2 separate regions of the Homo sapiens genome follow, and region 2 is linked to region 1. The links are contacts of gene promoters, found by promoter capture Hi-C in human tissues and cell types (Jung and others, 2019). All regions are on one chromosome and are shown on one strand. Each heading gives the region's core, a stretch centred on a gene start or on the middle of the fragment in contact. The rest is flanking DNA. Distances are from core to core; before and after follow the strand shown. Region 1 has its middle 22 kb from the start of SDHAF1. Region 2 holds the start of OVOL3 (ovo like zinc finger 3).

Region 1 (3,787 bases), core at 821-3,320:
TAGAAAAACAATGGTGGCCTGGGTTCAAATTCCGGTTTGGCACTTGATATCTATGTGACCTTGGATAAATTATTTAACCTCTCTGGGCCTCAATTTCTTCATATGTGAAATGAGAATGATGAAAAGATCTGATTCATAGGGCTGTAGTGAGGATTAAATGAGCTAATATATGGAAAGCACAGAAAATATGCAAAGCTAGGACCCGAGACGTGAAGCCATGATGCTGCATACCTGCCTCCACACCGCCTGGGAGTTTGCCCTGCCACTCAGGGGTCAGGATGCCCCCCAGTGCTCTTAAGGCTCCCCAGCATCCAGTAGCCCCCACCCCAGGTATCCAGAACCTTCAGATACTCAGGGCTCCAGACTTATACTCTCACCAACATGATCCCTCTTTTCCCAAGGACTTGACACTCCTGTGTTCCTTCCTCAATTAATTGGAATTTTAGAATTTTTTTTTTTTTTTTGAGACTGAGTCTCACTCTGTTGCCCAGGCTGGAGTGCAGTGGTGAGATCTTGGCTCACTGCAACCTCTGCCTCCCAGGTTCAAGCAATTGTCCTGCCTCAGCCTCCCAAGTAGCCTGGGACTACAGGCACATGCCACCACACTCGGATAATTTTTGTGTTTTTAGTAGACACGGGGTTTCACTATGTTGGCCAGGCTGGTCTGGAACTCTTGACCTCAGGTGATCCACCTGCCTCAGCCTCCCAAAGTGCTGGGATTACAGGCGTGAGCCACTGCGCCCTGCCAAGATTTGGGCAGGGACAAATAGCCAAACTATATCAGACACTAACAACATCCCTGTGGCTGCCAGTTGAGAACAGATTACAGGGCTTGTGAAGGAATGAGGCCTGGAGGAACAACAGTGAGGAGGCTGCTGCAGTAGTCCCGGCAGGAGACAATGGGGCTTGGACCAGGGTGGGGCAGTGAACGCAGGAGAAATGTGGGCTGGAAACCACCAAGTGAGGCAAAATAAGGAAATCATGGACTGGGAGAAAGGAGGTACCCCTTGATCTGGAAGGACAGGTGGAGGCTCTTGGTAATGGGGGAAGCCCTTGGGTCCTGTCTGAAGGCTCTCCTGTTTACTGGATGAGGTGGGCACACCTGGCTCCTTGGTAGGATTACTCATCTAGATTCCTGAGAAGAGGACTTGCAAGTATTGTGTTAGGACAAATCTGGATATTGAAATCAAGACTCCCAGTTTAAAAAAAAAAAAAAAGAAGGCCGGGCACAGTGGCTCACGCCTGTAATCCCAACACTTTGGGAGGCCAAGGCGGGCGGATCACGAGGTCAGGAGTTCAAAACCAGCCTGACCAACATGGTGAAACCCTGTCTCTACTAAAACTACAAAAATTAGCTTGGCATGGTAGTGCACGCCTGTAATCCCAGCTACTCAGGAGGCTGAGAGAGCAGAATTGCTTGAACCTGGGAGGTGGAGGTTGCAGTGAGCCAAGATCTCGCCACTGCATTCCAGCCTGGGAGACAGAGCGAGACTCTGTCTCAAAAAAAAAAAAAAAAAAAAAAAAGATTCCCGGATAGAGGCTGGGCATGGTGGCTCACATCTACAATCCCAGCACTTTAGGAGGCCAAGGTGGGCAGACTGCTTGAGCTCAGGAGTTCCAGACCAGCCTGGGCAACATGACGAAACCTCGTCTCTACTTAAACACACACACACACACACACACACACACACACACACACACACACACACACACACAGAAAGATTCTTGGTTAGCTGGGCACGGTGGCTCACACCTGTAATCACAGCACTTTGGGAGGCCAAGGTGGGCGGATCACAAGGTCAGGAGATCGAGACCATCCTGGCTAGCACAGTGAAACCCTGTCTCTACTAAAAATACAAAAAATTACGGGGCGTGGTGGCAGGCGCCTGTAGTCCCAGCTACTGGGGAGGCTGAGACAGGAGAATGGCGTGAACCCAGGAGACGGAGCTTGCAGTGAGCCGAGACTGTGCCACTGCACTCCAACCTGGGCGGCAGGGTGAGACTCTGTCTCGAAAAAAAAAAAAAGAAGAAGAAGAAGAAAAAGAAAGATTCTTGGTTAGTAGACGAGGGTGGGGCATCCTAGATCTGCAAAGGCCCCACTCTCAATATCCCAGAATCCAACCCCCTCAACCTCCTTATCCTCCACCCCTCCCCGATGCTCAGGAATTCAGCCCCTCTGAAGACCCCAGCTCTTGGTCACTCCTGCAGGGGAACCCACAGCAGCTGGGGCTGTCAGTTATCCTGGGCGACAGATGGCTATGGTTGTACTTCCACACCTCAGAACCATGGGCAGAGGCAGGTCTGGAGCAAGAACCGCCCACACTGCATCTCTTTTACAACCGGCAGCACACACGTCACTGCACGTGGCTGAAGGTTGCCACTCACACAAGGCAGACTGTGCAGTGACTTCATTCAGGCAGGACCATGACATGGGCAGTCCAGATCCACTGGTCTTCGTGCATTTGGGCCCCGCAGCCACCTGATACCCTGAGCCAAGCCTTAGTCCCCACAGGAGACTGGGGGCCCTGTGCTGTCCCTGTAGCCCCAAAGGGGCCCCTTAGCCACTGCCACCAAGTGTGACACCTACACCCTTCGAGGCCAGTGCCGTGCCTGGATATGCCCCTTCCCCAGCTCCCTGCCTACGCTTTGGGAGTGCTTCCATGTCTGTGTACACCCTGTCAGGCCTCAGTGTCAACACTGAGCCCTCGAGCTTCTGGGCTGGCTGCCGTGAGTGACCCTTCAAGGGAAAGGGTTATAGGCTGCTGGGTAAAGGGGATTCTGGGACTTAGGAATGACACTCCTTAGTTCTGGAGGCTGATTCCTGGGGCAAGGGTGTAGGGTCCCTGGAAGGGGACAGCCTCTGGGTCCTGGGGGCAAGACTGCTGAGTTGGGGGGTGCGGGGAAAATAATTCTAGGGCCCAGAGACAGGGCTCTTTGGGTCTGGGGCCAGGGCTTCTGGGTCCTGGGCATGGGAACAACTTGGCTATAGGGCTGGGACTGCTGGGTTCTCAAGTTCTAGAGACTAGAACACCTAGGTGGTGACAACTCCAGTATCTGGGGTGAGCGCTCTGAGTCCCAGAGCCAGACTTATTTATTTATTTAGACAGGATGTCACTCTGTTGTTTATTTAGACAGGGTATCACTCTGTTGCCAAGGCTGGAGTGCAGTGGTACTATCATAGCTCACTGCAGCCTCAACCTCCCAGGCTCAAGCCATCCTCCCTCCTCAGCTTCCCAAGTATCTGGGACCACGGGCATGTGCCACTATGCCCAGATAATTTTTTAATTTTTTTTGTAAAGATGAGGTCTTCCTATGTTGCCCAGGCTGGTCTCTAATTCCTGAGCTCAAGTGATCCTCCCACCTTGGCCTCCCAAAATGCTGGGATTACAGATGTGAGCCACTACGCCTGTCCCAGAGCCAGACTTCTATGTTCTGGGGAGTGGACTTCTGGTTTCTTAGCACAGAGACTTCTTTACTCTGTGAGGCAGGGATTGCTGGGTCTGTTGCCTGGAGAGCTCCATTCTAGAGGGTGAGGACCACAGGATGTTGGTAGGGATTCCTGGAAGCTGAGAGCAGGGACATTTGCACTATAGGGGTGGCCAAATGCTTGGGTCTTGGAAACCAGACCTGGGAGTCCTGGTGTGAATACCTTTCCCTTCCTGTCTTTCTCCATCCCCACTCCTGCCCCTGCAGCTATTGAGTGCCCCGAAAACAATCACTATGAGCCATGTGGCTTATCCTGTCCAGAGACCCCCCACAGGCAGGCCCACTGGGGGTTACCACTGCC
Region 2 (3,424 bases), core at 562-3,061, 140 kb after region 1:
CTCTGCCTCACTTGCCTCTCACTGTCTTGGTCATTCTGGGCTGTCACTGGTGTGCCTCCTTCATGGACTTACGCGATCATTTTCAGTAAGCTAGGTCTGGAGCTTAGAAAATTGTTTAGTTGCCAGGCGCAATGGCTCACGCCTGTAATCCCAGCACTTTGGGAGGTTGAGGCAGGTGGATCACTCGAGGTCAGGAGTTTGAGACCAGCCTGCCCAACATGGTGAAACCCTATCTCTACTAAAAATACAAAAATTAGCCGGGTGTGGTGGTGCGCACCTGTAGTCCCAGCTACTTGGGGGACTGAGGCAGCAGAATCGCTTGAACCCAGGAGACGGAGGCTGCAGTGTGTGGAGATCGTACCACTGCACTCCAGCCTGGGCAACAGAGTGAGAATCTGTCTCAAAAAACAAAACAAAACAAAACAAAAAAAATAAAAACAGGTTGGGCGCGGTGGCTCACGCCTGTAATCCCAGCACTTTGGGAGGCTGAGCCGGGCGGATCACCTGCATTTAGGAGTTTGAGACCAGCCTGGCCAACATGGTGAAACCCCATCTCTACAAAAAACACAAAAAATCAGCTGGGTGCAGTGGTGTGCCCCTGTAATCCCAGCTACTTGGAAGGCTGAGGCAGGAGACTCACTTGAACCCAGGAGGCGGAGGTCATAGAGGAGCCAAGATCACGCCATTGCACTCCAGCCTGGGCAACGAGCAAAACTCCGCCTCAAAAAAAAAAAATTAAAAAACAGAGCTTGGATTGCTTCTTAGTCTTCTGGCTAAGAATCAAGTGTAAAACAGCTTGGCCAGTGTGCCGGGGTAGGGTCCTGGGAGCCCCTGGCTGTGTCAAGAGACCCCCTTTGGGCCAGGTGCGGTGGCTCATGCCTGTAATCCCAGCACTTTGGGAGGCCAAGGCAGGCGGATCACTTGACGTCAGGAGTTCAAGACTAGCCTGGCCAACATGGTGAAACTCTGTCTCTACCAAAAATACAAAAATTAGCCCGGTGTGGTGGTGCATGCCTGTAGTCCCAGCTACTCAGGAGGCTGAGGCAGGAGAATCGTTTGAACCCGGGAGGTGGAGGTTCCAGTGAGCCAAGATGGTGCCACTGCACTCCAGCCTGGGCAACAAGAGTGAAACTCCGTCTCAAAAAAAGAAAAAAAAATAGGAGACCCCCTTTTACTTTCCAGACTGTGGGAGGGAGGAAGAGTGTTGTCCCAGGCAGTAACTAGGGGCTAGATTATTAACAAACTAGTATTTTAGTGCCTGCTACACCTGAACAGTGCTTCTGGCTGAATGTTAGCCCTGGGAATCTGAAGATCAGAGAGGTGGGGCATCCTACCTGAGGATGCACAGCCTGGATCCTCATTTTGCCCTGATTTATCCAGATCTGCTGTCCTCCCTGCACCCTACAGAGCAGGGCAATCACAGCAGGGGGCCCCTTCAGTGTCCTCAGACAGCTGCTGTGATTTGAATAACCAGGCAGGCTGCTGGATGTCCCCTGGTGACTGATTTGCCTGGCAAACAGACCCTCAACCCCTGGGAGACAGTCCCCCTGGGGCCTTGTTTCTTCTTCCTATCCTCAAAAGCTCCCCAGGCCCATCTCCCCTTGCCTGGCTCTGCTTGGTGGTCCTAGTGCTTGTCCACCCCTGGAGGCTGGATGGTTCCCTCCAAAACCTGGGAGAAGATGGGCAGGTCCCCAGGCAGGGGTAACCTGAGCCAGCTTAGTCCACTCCCAGGGCCAGCCAGGAAATTTGCATGAAGAGAATGAGGTTCCTCAGAGGCTTCCCCTCCTTTCCCACCAGGGATAGTCATCCTGGGGCTGAGGTCTGACAGCAGGTGGAAGCAGCCCCTGTGTGTGGAGAGCCTTCCGGAGGGCATGCCCCGCGCCTTCCTGGTCAGGAGTCGGCGTCCACAGCCCCCCAACTGGGGCCATCTGCCTGACCAGCTCCGGGGAGATGCCTATATCCCAGGTGGGCCCCTCACTGTGCCTGGAGGTAAGGGGCAGGAGAGACGCAGTGTCACCATCTGGCTTTTCTCCTCAGACTGCAGCAGCCTGGGGGGGCCACCGGCACAACAGTCGTCCAGTGTCAGGGATCCGTGGACAGCGGTGAGTGTGTAACTGGCTAGCAAAGCCAGCTGTTTCGCTCCTGCCTGCTCTCAGCCTTAATGAAGCTGACAGCCCCTTGCTCCCCCGACCCATCTGCACACGCCCTCCAGCCTCGGGACCTGTCCGCCCCTACTTCTCTGTGTTGGGAATGCCTCTCCTTTCCTAGTAGTGAGCTCTCTACTGTTAGGTCTCACCCCAGGCACCAGGGCCGGCAGCCACAGGGATCTCTTCCAGCGGGGCACAAGATTCATCCCCACATGTGGATGATCCGCTTTATGTCAGAACATGGGACAAGGCAACAGGAGTGCGATGGGAGATAAGGGCTTTTTCAGCTGTGCATGCATTGGAGGAAGGAAAGCGCCAGCCGGAATGTAATATATTCATGAAAGCAAGGCACTGTTCTAGGCATGGGCTGTTATATTCAGCGGGAATAAGACAAAAATCCACAATTTTATGGAGCTTATATTCTGGTTGGGGCTGCATGTATAGACAATAAAATTAGTCAGCCTGTAATTCCAGCACTTTGGGAGGCCGAGGCGGGTGAATCACTTGAGGTCATGAGTTCGAGACCAGGCTGGCCAACATGTTGAAACCTTGTCTCTACTAAAATTACAAACATTAGCCAGACATGGTGGCACGTGCCTGTAATCCCAGCTCCTCAGGAGGCTGAGGCAGGAGAATCAGTTGAACCTAGGAGGCAGGGCAGAGGATGCAGTGAGCCGAGTCTGCGCCACTGCACTCCAGCCTGGGAAACAGATCTAGACTCCATCCCCCCTCAAAAAAAACAATAAAATTAGAAAAATAGACCGGGCATAGTGGCTCATGCCTGTAATCCCAGCACTTTGTGAGGCCAAGGTGGGTGGATTGCTTGAGGTCAGGAATTCAAGACCAGCCTGGCCAACATGGTGAAACCCCATCTCTACAAAAAATAAAAAAATTAACTGGGCATGTGGCGCATGCCTACAATCGTGTAATCGTGGGGAGGCTGAGGCACTAGAATCGCTTGAACCCGGGAGGCGGAGGTTGCAGTGACCTGACATCATACCACTTCACTCCTGCCTGGGCGACAGAGCAAGACTCTGTCTTTAAAAAAAAAAAATGTGTATGTCACATCAGAAGATGGGACTTGGCATAGAGAAAGTAAGGACCATGGGATAGTGAGGGAAGGCCCTGGAGAGTGACAGGCACACACACTAATCACTGTCTCCCACCTGCCTTCCTAATCCTCCGTGGTGGCTCAGGACACTCTGTAAATACTCATTTGCAGAGTAACAAAGGGTGGATGGGGTCCAGCCAGAGAGGCTAATAACTCCTGCATCCCT

The links. Contacts are between HindIII fragments. The study calls those that stand out against the background at their distance.
Region 2: a contact is called between the fragment with the promoter of OVOL3 here and a fragment that was not itself captured in region 1, in 3 of the 25 tissues and cell types used here (dorsolateral prefrontal cortex, pancreas and spleen).

Annotation. Positions count from the first base shown.
Region 1 is chr19:35,971,362-35,975,148 of GRCh38, forward strand. No RefSeq gene overlaps it. Among named protein-coding and RNA genes, the nearest start is that of SDHAF1, 22 kb to the right of the region's middle. RefSeq lists a silencer at 2,193-2,393. The HindIII fragment of the contact is 9,546 bases long and covers 1-3,787 here.
Region 2 is chr19:36,109,332-36,112,755 of GRCh38, forward strand. It overlaps OVOL3 (ovo like zinc finger 3), which reads left to right and starts at 1,812. Exons shown (of 4, transcript NM_001302757.2): 1 at 1,812-1,965; 2 at 2,038-2,102. The coding sequence starts at 1,872. It also overlaps a transcript of WDR62 not described here. RefSeq lists enhancers at 1,411-2,041, 2,042-2,671. The HindIII fragment of the contact is 22,945 bases long and covers 1-3,424 here.